Regions from separate parts of the Homo sapiens genome. Here regions 1 and 2 are each linked to region 3. The links are contacts of gene promoters, found by promoter capture Hi-C in blood cells and fetal thymus (Javierre and others, 2016). All regions are on one chromosome and are shown on one strand. Each heading gives the region's core, a stretch centred on a gene start or on the middle of the fragment in contact. The rest is flanking DNA. Distances are from core to core; before and after follow the strand shown.

Region 1 (3,243 bases), core at 237-2,736, 560 kb before region 3:
TAGGAAATTCAAATACCATCCTTCTGATTTGGGGAACAAAGGTGACTAACACATATTTTATTATAAATATTTATTTTAAAAAATTTCTTGGCAGTTAAAAGGAAGTGGCATAATGAGCAGGACAGGACAGTTACCGGCTCCCCCTCAGATGCCTCTGGCTGGCTTCTCACATTCTCCAAGATCCAGCCTCTAGGCTCCAGTCTCGGCTACCTCTGCTGGGCGGTAGCTCACACCCCCTTTGGTTCCCCTTCTGTGTGTACACAACAGGAAAGGCTAATCAGAAAACTGGCCCAGGAGCAGCTCATTTGCATGCGCTTTGCATGAAGTGACTCCACAAGGGTGGGGGAAGCTTGTGCCTGAAGAAAGGGTCAGTGTAATACCTGTGCTGCCTTCTCATCTGCACAAGGAACGCGACGCTGGTGACAGCAAAAAGGAGGCCAAAAACCAGGGCTAGGATGTCACCTGCGATGGAGAGCAGAGAGGGCTGCTTTGGGAAGGAAGAGGGGTCTGCAGAGTTCCTCAACACCTGCCTCAGTGCACTCCACCACCCCTGCCCCGAGTTCTCAGGCAGCCCCTAGTGCCTCAGTCTCCAGAAGAGGCCAGCCAAGGGATGAGGGTGGATACACGAGAAGGGGTAAGATAAGCACCGTTTTTGCTTCCTAAAAGCCAAGTAAAAGGGCCGTTTGGGGCCAGGCACAGTGGCTCATGCCTACAGTCCCAGTGCTTTGAGAAGCTAAGGTGAAAGGATTGCCTGAGCCTAGGAGTTCGAGGCTGCAGTGAGCTATGATCGTGCCACAACACCCCAGCCTGGGCAACAGAGTGAGACCCTATCTTTAAAAAAAGGGGGGGGATTGTTTTGCGAGAGGGATGCTGGGAGATTTCTCAAGCTTCATTCTAATCAATTAGCCTCTGGGGACAATGGGGGAATCCCCACCATGATCTGCCTCTCTAATATTGGGGTTGGGGTCTGTTCTGCAGAAAAGGAGAGGGAGCAGAGGCGGTCCTGAGCAGCCCTGGGGCTGAATGGTGCTGAGGAGTCTCCTGGCATCAGGACCAAGAGGAGGGGCAGACTCACCAGCAGCCAGGCAGGAATTCAGCTGGACTGGAGAGAAAAAGGAGATGTGAGAGGCGGGCTGTGACCACCAATGACAGACACTGGCACACACATGGGAGGATAAGGGACTACTGGCTGGGGGGAAACCAGACAAAGCTGTACCTGGCTCAGCAGCCCGAGGACTGCTGTCCACTCCAGCAGGGAAGGAGGCCTCAATCACTCGCCCATTCAAAGGCTGCGTCGCTCGGAAGTTCAGCTGTAGCCGAGAGTCACCAGGTCCCCACAGGGTGTCAGAGAGGGTGTGGAGCTAGGGAGGTCAGTGGACAGTGTGGGTGGGTTCATGGCATGACAGGAAACAAGGGTCCCAGGCCAGCTCACAACCAGCACCTCAGGGCTCCACCCTCCAGCTCCTGTATTCCCCATCCAGCCTCTTGATTTCTTTTATAAATAAATAAATGTATCCTAAAGATGGTAGGCAGTGGTGGGATCATAGCTCACTGCAGTCTCAAACTCCTGGAATCAAGCGATCTTCCCACCTCAGCCTCCTTGAGTAGCTGGGACTAGGCGCATACCACCATGCCCGGCTATTTTTGGTTTTGTTGGGGTTTTTTTGGTAGAGATGGGGTCACACTATGTTGCCCCGCCTTGTCTTGAACTCCTGGGCTCAAACCATTCTCCCACCTCAGCCTCCCAACGTGGTGGGATTATAGGCGTAAGCCACAGAGCCCAGCCTTGATTTCTTTCTTCTCCTGTTTCTCATCTCATCTTACATCCTCTTTCCCCCGCACCCACTGTGTCCACACACACCCCAGGCCCACCTGCTTAGCACTCAGCATCACTGTCTGGTTAAACACAGTCCAGATGACACCCTGGGCACAGGGCGGTGTAGTCAGAGACCCCTCATATTGGAAGTAGCGGCTGAAGTCAGAGGGCAGGAGTGCAGATATGTCCAGTCCTGGGACCTGAGTCTCTGAGCCTGTGAAGAGGATCTATGTTGGGGTCTCATCTACATTGCACCCCCTTAAAGCTTCAGGGTATAGGGATACAGTTTCACCTCCCAGAAGCCAAGGTAACTCAACTCTGAGACCACTTCTTCGCTAAGTGCAGGCCCTTCCCATAAGACGTAACTCAAAAAAAAGTACAGGGCTTTGGAGCAACTGGAAGAGGCCTGAGGAAGCAAGAGAGGAAGAAAGAAAGGAAGGAGAGAAGGGAAGGTGGGAGGGAAGGGAGGAAGGAAGAGAAGGAAAGAAGAAAGACCGTCTGAGTCTACACTCTTAACTCTGTGTACCATCATAAAGTGCTGGGCCACAAGTTTAAGCCCAGAGCAAATTAAAAAGAAAAAATGAATCCCAGCACTTTGGGAGGCCGAGGCTGGTGGATCACAAGGTCAGGAGTTTGAGAGCAGCCTGGCCAATATGGTGAAACCCTGTCTCTACTAAAGATGTAAAAAAAAAAAAAAAGAAAAGAAAAGAAAAAATGATCTGAATAACTTGTAAATAAATATGAATATTGATAACTATACAAAACAGACACAAGAAATGCAAAGGCAGAGTTCTACCTAGTCTAGCAGAAACCTAAAAGGTCTAGTAGAGTAAGTGAGATTTAAAATGACCCAAGAGTGACTAAGAAGAGAACGATTTCCAACAAAAGTATTTACAAAGTTAAAATATTTGATGCTTATTAAAGATAAACAGTTCTCAGAAAAAGTTTAGCTCTCCAGACTTGACCTTGACAATTCCAAACACCATTTTTTGGTCTTGTTTTTTTTGTCTCATTTTGGTTTTTGCTTGGTTTTCTTTTTTTTTTTTTTTTTTGAGACAAGAGTCTCGCTCTGTTGCCCAGGCTGGAGTGCAGTGGCACGATCTCGGCTCACTGCAACTTCTGCCTCCCGGGTTCATGCCATTCTCCTGCCTCAGCCTCCCGAGTAGCTGGGATTACAGGCACCCGCCACCACGCCTGGCTATTTTTTCGTATTTTTAGTAGAGATGGGGTTTCACCATGTTGGCCAGGATGGTCTTGATCTCTTGACCTCGTGATCCACCTGCCTTGGCCTCCCAAAGTGCTGGGATTACAGGCGTGAGCCACCGTGCCCGGCGGTTTTTGCTTGGTTTTCAATCTGTAGGCAGCCGTTTGCGGGTAACTGTGTCTGTCAGCTTCATGGTTATTATCAAGATGAGCGCTGGCTCATG
Region 2 (3,479 bases), core at 844-3,343, 710 kb before region 3:
GGAAGTGGTAATGCTGATGGGGGTTCAAAGACAAAATACTTGGCACTCTAATGAGAGATACCAATAAGTACAAGGACAATTATAATTCACTCTAATAATTGCTATAATCAAGGTTATCCTAGACTGCTGCATGAGCAGAAAAAAAAGGGGCATCTTATCTGGAGTGCTTGAGGAATAGTAAGCCTTGGAAGGAATGACTTCTCAGCTGATATCTGTAAGATGAGTAAGAAGAGGTGGCCAAGTAAAGAGTGCTGTAAGATGAGACATGACAGGGCAAGGCACAGCAGGAATCTATAGCAATGCACTATGCCTGATGCATAGAGTGGTGGGGAGAAGAGCCCACTCTGCTCTAGAAGGGCAGAATTGTGCAGGAATTTCTGTGCCAAGTTAAAAGCTAGAATTATATCCTGAGGGCAACTGAGAGTCACTAGAAGGTTTTAAGTAGGACAATAACATGAACGAATTTCTGTTTCTGCAAGATCACTCTGGCAATAGGGTAGACTGGAGAAAGACAAGACTGGAGTTGTGAGGCTAAGAGAGGAGGTATGGAAAGGCAAGTGAATACATTGTGAGGCACTGGTCATAACCAGGAAAGAAGTAGATGGGCTTAGGTGGAGAGAAGTGGACAGGTTCAAGAAATGCTAACAGGCCGAGCGCAGCGGCTACCACCTGTAATCCCAGCACTTTGGGAGGCCAAGGGGTGGATCACCTGAGGCTAGGAGCTCGAGACCAGCCTGGACAACATGGTGAAACCCCGTCTCTATTAAAAATACAAAAAATTAGCCGGGTGTGGTGGCGGACACCTGTAATCCCAGCTACTTGGGAGGCTGAGGCAGGAGAATTGCTTGAACCCAGGAGGTGGAGGTTGCAGTGAGCCGAGGTTGCACCACTGCACTCCAGCCTAGGCAACAGAGCGAGACTCTGTCAAAAAAGAAAGAAAAGAAACAAGAAAAGTAGGGAAAAGAAAAGAAAAGCTAACAAAGTGAAACTGACCATTGGAACAGTGGATGTATAGGATAAGAGAGAGGGAAATGCCTGGAGTGCCACCAGTTTTTGGCATAAGTAAGTGGTAGGATAATGGTGCCATTAACTGAATGCCTAGAAAAGGGTAGATGCTTGGTAGGCATGTGTTGGATGAACAGAGGACAAAGGATGAGAGCCAGGTTTGGAGGGAATAATTGGGCATAAGACATTTGAAGTGCTTATGAAACATGCTGGCCCAAGAGTCTAGTAGACAGCTGGCTATATGGGTCTGAAGCTCAGGAGAGAGGGCTAGGCTGGAGACATTGTTCCTGTAAAGACAGCCATGTGTTTTATGGAGACATACTATGCATAAAGAGATGTCATCATGCAAATGTGATTATGTGATTGTGGAACTGGACTGTGTTAGACAGAATCAAAATGGCATCCCAAATAATGTCTCCTCCCCCGCCAGGCCTTGTCCACCCACAACAGGAAGGGAGTTTGGAATCAGGACAGAGAGTAGAGGGTCCCACTGGAATCCACAGCCACCTTCCAATTGTCCCACTTTAAGAGCACTAACACTTGTAACAGAATCTGAAGTATAGTTGCCAGTCTCCCTGTTCAAACTCCAGTCTTCTTCATCTGAATGCTGGGCACTGATTCCTACACTAGTGCTTGGACTTGACTGCCCCCCGGCCCTCCGAGCAGGCCTTGATCTTTGGGCCTCACCTCCTGCTTTTTTAATGTATCCTGCTACTCCAGACAGAATTCGGAACTCCTCTAGTGGAATCCTGGCTCCCGCCCACCTGCATTGTGACTGCCTATACCTTGCTCTCTCAACAAAGCCTCCCTGGTGTAAGGGGGCACTGGCACTACAGGCAATCAGCATCAAGACAGAAGAAGCAAAGCCAAAAGCCACATCTAGACAGGCTTTAGATCCTGACAGACTATGGGTAAGACAAGAAAACTTAATCTGAGGCACGGAATTGTGAATTGTGGCCCTGACCACAGTCAAAGACCAGATGATGCCACTCTCCTTATTCATGTTATGGAACCTCAGGGTTATGCCTGAATACTGGCTCTCTCTTCCTCTTGAAGGAATGAGCTCAATTGTTTAATCAGGCAATCTACGTTCTCTCAGCAACCATTTTGTGCCAGGCCTTGTGCTAGGATGAGAGATACGGGTGAAAAGACAGCTCCCTTGAAGAACTCATGGACTAATAGGAATACAAGGGAATGATCTATTATAATGCAGTGTACTGCAACAGGAGTAGCACAAGGAGCTATGGATGGCAATAGGAGGGGCCCAGACAGACAGGGGAAGTCAGGGACACCTTTTTGGTGGAGGTGACATTTCAGTTGAGCCTTTAATTGGGACTAAGAATCCTACACCTGGCAGTCCCACTGCATGGGGCCTCATACAGGATTCTTGGCTAGAAGTTGGGGTACTCTCAGTTCTCATGGAGAATGAGAAAATCTGAATTGGAGGTGCCATCTGGTTATCCTCCCTCAGTTGCACAGCACCACCCTCACCTCAAGACTAGTCACGAAGCCAGGGATTCAGACCTCACTGCTGAACACCAGCTCTCGAGGGTTGTGACCTCTTGCTGGTGCCTACTCTCAGGGACACTTCTTAGCCTCACTTTCCTTTCCACGCCTCCTTGCTTAGCCTCAAAATATATAATTTTTGGTCTTCACCACTCATGACTGCTACCTACCCCTTTCTCCTGACCCTTGAAGAACCTTTGGCAGCCCTTCTTAGGTACACAGAGAGCATTGGTACAATAGCACCAGGAACACAGAGGGAGGTATTAAGGTACCAACGTGGAGACGTGAGAGGAAGCCCTCCTCCTACCTTCCAGCACCAGAGCTATCCAACCTCCTTCTCCTCTTCAGGACCTTCAATAAATATGCTCCTTAGGAGCCAATCCCATTGTCTGTACATCTGGCCAATCATCTTCCCTTTCCCTCACCTTAGACACTTCAAGAAAACAAAGCAAAGTTGGGCTTTAGTGGGATGAGGAGAGGAGATGAGAATCCCTGTGGTCACAGAGAACTCAGTGAGATTCATGTTCATCCTCAAACAAAATTTCATCTATAATCTTCCTGCTCAGAAACCACTCTCTTGAGTCATCTCTGGCAGGCTGACAAAGATGGAGTAGATCCTGGGTAGGAAGAGAACTGAAGACACTTCTGGGGTAATGAGAAAACCCTGAGGAAAAAGAAAATCTAAGGGGTAGAGGTGAGGACTTCCAGGTGGAGATAAAGATACCTGGGGGTGGGGAGAGGTAAGTTCCCCCCACCCCCTCACCTCCATCAAGGGATAGGTAAGAACACTTCGGGGGAGCTTAGAATTTTTTTACTTCTCACTTTTAATCCTGCATACCTAGGTCTCTACATTGGCTGGCGCTGCCCCCATTACCTATGGGACTGTTTCCGGATTGGGGATGAGTCCAGATGCTTTTGTGGACACTTGTTGAGAGAGCACCGGATCATCTCAGGTAGGGGAGAACTGA
Region 3 (3,527 bases), core at 336-2,835:
GAGCCTAAAGAATCTGAGATTTGGCCGGGTGCTGTGGCTCACGCCAGTAATCCCAACACTTTGGGCAGCCGAGGCGGGCGGATCGCTTGAGGTCAGGAATTTGAGACCAGCCTGGCCAACATGGTGAAACCTGTCTCTACCAAAAATACGAAAATTAGCCCGGCCTGGTGGCGCGCGCTTGTAATCCCAGCTACTCTGAAGGCTGAGGCAGGAGAATTGCTTGAACCCAGTAGGCGGAGGTTGCAGTGAGCCGAGATCGCACCACTGCACTCCAGTTTGGGCGAAAGAGCGAGACGCCGTCTCAAAAAAAAATAAAAAAGAATGTGACTTTTGTAGAACTTGATCAAATCCAGACCCAAACGGTCCGCTCCTCGGAGAGGCCACAGATCGGCGCTGAGCTGGGCTGTCTCAGTTCTGCAAGTGTCCTGTGCTGCCATCTACCGGTGTCTGGGAAGCGTCGCCCTCCCTTATTGTATCTCCTGGGGAGAGGTTGGAGAGGGCGCCGCTTAAACTGCAGAACATATGTAACTGTCATGCAGTTCATTAGACACCTGTACAAGGGAAAGGCCTCACTTTTCTCCAGCAATTGCAGGCCCTCCTAACTCCATATCAACACTCATCTCGTAAAATTCACAGATCTCGCTGACCTGCCTCAGTAGGTACTGATCTGACTCCTACTGTCCATCCCATCCCAGAACCCACACCCGCCTGCACAGCGTAGGCTTCAGAAACTGCTCAACCTCGCAGACCTGAACCCCACCGCCCAGATTCCCTCATTTTCACAGACCCCTGAGATTCCTTGCACTACCTTGCAATCCCTACGGACCTCCCCTATTAGTGCAAATGCACGCGCCCACCCAGACATCCCTACAAAGAGGTTAGAGTTCCGGCGGCAGCTCACACCGGTGCGAAAGCAGCGAGATAGCCCCAACCCGGCTCAGAGCCCTCAGGCTGGTGGCTTTGGCCCTGGCTCCATCTCCCCACCTCTGCCCTGATCCGCTCCGCTCAGGCTAGCAGCCTGCCGGCCGAGGCCCCGCCCCTCTAGACTTGTCATCACAGAAGCCGCACGTGGCCGGGGTGGGACCTCAGGCGACCTGCGACCATCACTTTGTCTCCTCCTTCCTCCTTTGGGGCCGCCACCGCCAATCAGAGCCAGCGGATCCTGGTTGGAGTGCGACCGCCCGGGTGAGGCGTGAGGGAGAAGGGGCGGAAGGAGGAGGGGCTCTGAGATGGGAGGGGGATCGTGGTGGAAGGGTCTTGGCGCGACTTCTGCCAGGCTGGAATCCGAGGGGGCGGGTCCTGGTGAAAGGCGGAGAGACCGAGAGGAGGCGGGGATCGGGGGTGGGGCCTGGGAAAAGCTGAGGATCCTGGGGAAATGCAAAGAAAACGCGAAGGAGGTGCGAGGTCAGAAGGGGGCGGGGCCCGGGCTACAGGGGAGGAGCTCGAGAAATTAAACGAGGAAAGGGACAAGTCCACAGAAGGTGGAAGGTGGGACAAGGGAGAGGGTGGGCCCGGGCGTTGCGGGGGCGGGGCTCAGACTGAAGGGGCGAGGTTTGCAGGCGGAGGCTACAGCTAGGGCTGCTCAGTAACTGCCCCAACCACTACCACGTCCCCAAGTGCAACGGGACCCACGGAACTACAGGTGTGGGGCAGGGTGAGCGTGGAAGAAGGGACGCGGATGGGGGTGCGCTTTGCAGACGATCTGGAGACTGCTGTGTGTTGAGGGAAGATACGAAGTCGCGGGAGCAGTTGGGGACTCAATGTGTGGGCAACAAGGTGCATTCTCCAGAGGCCTCTATGGGGGAAGGGCGGGAGCGCTTTGTTGTGGGGGGGTTGCGAGGTACATTGTGAGGGGGCTGTCTCTGTCTGATGTGGGGGGTTGGAGGAGGTACATGAGGGGCAGGGGACATGGAGGTGCTTTGAAGGAAGGGGGGCTGTTTAATGGAGAAGGAGTGTAGCGGTGTCGGAGGGTCTGCGGGCACTATCTAGGGGAAGGGGTTGTAGGCCCAACTTGAGGCAGGAGAACAGAACCCCCAGTACTTTGACAAAGTAACAGTTTAGGGCATTGTAGTAACTACAGGAAGACACTTGTGTTCTGGGTTCTAAGAGCAAGGGTGTTGGGGTTAGTGGGGTGAAGAGGCCAATCTATTGCACTCCTGTCTGCTCAGCTTTTAACTCCGCCTTCTGGCCTGGGCACTCAGAGAGGAGTCAGACCCTGCTTGTCACTAGGGCTTGTGTGAATGTCTCCTCAGTCTATTTTGGATCTGTCCAGCTGAGACTGGGGTTTCTTCCCTAAGCTGAGGTCCCGGGGGACCCTTCCCCCGCTGGGTTCCTGTCAACCCCCCATCCTAGTTCCTGTTCCTCCCAGAGCCGGCCTTGGTCTCTGTCTCCCCCCTCCCCCGCCCTGCCCTTATGCTCTGGGTGTGCTCATTTCCCACTTCCTTCCTTGCCCCAGGGCCTGGCCTGGCCCTTGCCCATCTAGGAGCTGTGCCCTGCCCGGTACTTTGTTATCAATGACCAGAGACCCTGGTAACCAGCGGCAGGGCTCAGACCCCACCCCCACCACTACCACCCAGGTCTCTCGCATAGATCCCCAAGTGACTGGTAGCCACATTTAACCACTTGCCACAAACAGATTTTCCCCACCCTTATCCTTCTGGGTAGGGAACGCTAGGGCTTCTGTGGGAGGGGGGAAGTGGTGAGGAGTATTGAGGGTCTTCTGTCTGTTTTGAGAGGTGGGCCACGACTGTAAGCTGAACCCAGTAAGGGTTGTGAGGTTCCAGCCACAGCTAGGGGAGGAAGAGGGAGTGGCTCCCCACACTCCAGGCTTGGAAGCACTATCAGAACAGGCTAGGACCTAGTTCTCTTGAGGGCTCCTCTGCTTCCCTGAGGGGATTTGATGGAGTGCTAGAGTTCTTTTTGCCCCTGGGCTGGCTGGGAGAGGGTGGGAAAGGCTTGAGTTCCACACAGTGGCTAAATGAGTGTGACAGTGTTGCTAAAAGGGGCCCCAAGCCAGCCTCCTCACACAACCACCCAGGAGCTGAGAGACTGGCTGGGGAGGGGGGTGGGTCTGCTGAGGACAGACAAAGCCCTGGGGTAGGGTGGGGTAAAAAAGGGCAGGCTGAAGCCTTTTGAGGAGGAGCTGATTGCTATGGCAACACTGCTTCCCAGACAGTCTCTCAGAGAGGGCGGGCCTAGGGCAGACTCTCCAGCTTCCTCAGGACTGGGGCGGTTTGTGTGAGTGGGTGGGGCATGAAGAGAAAGGGCATCAGTTTGCTGTGCTGAGACTGGAGGATATAGCCTTTCTGCTTTGGTACAGGCAGCAGAGCATTCGAATGCCTGGAGCTATCCTCTGATATGGAGATGAGTGAACAACAGTCATTAGAATTGTAGAGCTGCAGAGGCCCTCAGCAGTCATTGTTTATACAAACACCTCATTTTACAGGTTTGGAAATTTATGGCTAAAGAGACTGTGATTCCCCAGATGTCACAGTGAAAGGGCAGAAGATAGGATCCAGATCGCCGGA

The links. Contacts are between HindIII fragments. The CHiCAGO score rates a contact against its expected background, and 5 or more counts as called.
Region 1: a fragment that was not itself captured here is called in contact with the fragment with the promoter of ATOSB in region 3 in 1 of 17 cell types (neutrophils); the score reaches 5.4 in neutrophils.
Region 2: a contact is called between a fragment that was not itself captured here and the fragment with the promoter of ATOSB in region 3, in 2 of 17 cell types (neutrophils and total CD8 T cells). The highest score is 5.9, in neutrophils.

What each region holds. Positions count from the first base shown.
Region 1 is chr9:35,677,972-35,681,214 of GRCh38, reverse strand. It overlaps CA9 (carbonic anhydrase 9), which reads right to left. Exons shown (of 11, transcript NM_001216.3): 7 at 1,873-2,030; 8 at 1,217-1,361; 9 at 1,076-1,102; 10 at 381-462; 11 at 56-250. The coding sequence ends at 190. Among named protein-coding and RNA genes, the nearest start is that of CA9, 5.7 kb to the right of the region's middle. The HindIII fragment of the contact is 1,194 bases long and covers 890-2,083 here.
Region 2 is chr9:35,819,875-35,823,353 of GRCh38, reverse strand. FAM221B (family with sequence similarity 221 member B) reads left to right here. Exons shown (of 7, transcript NM_001012446.4): 4 at 3,354-3,464. Among named protein-coding and RNA genes, the nearest start is that of HINT2, 6.6 kb to the right of the region's middle. The HindIII fragment of the contact is 6,407 bases long and covers 1-3,479 here.
Region 3 is chr9:35,113,920-35,117,446 of GRCh38, reverse strand. ATOSB (atos homolog B) reads left to right here and starts at 1,585. Exons shown (of 9, transcript NM_025182.4): 1 at 1,585-1,642. RefSeq lists a silencer at 1,381-1,440 and an enhancer at 2,774-3,527. The HindIII fragment of the contact is 12,182 bases long and covers 1-3,527 here.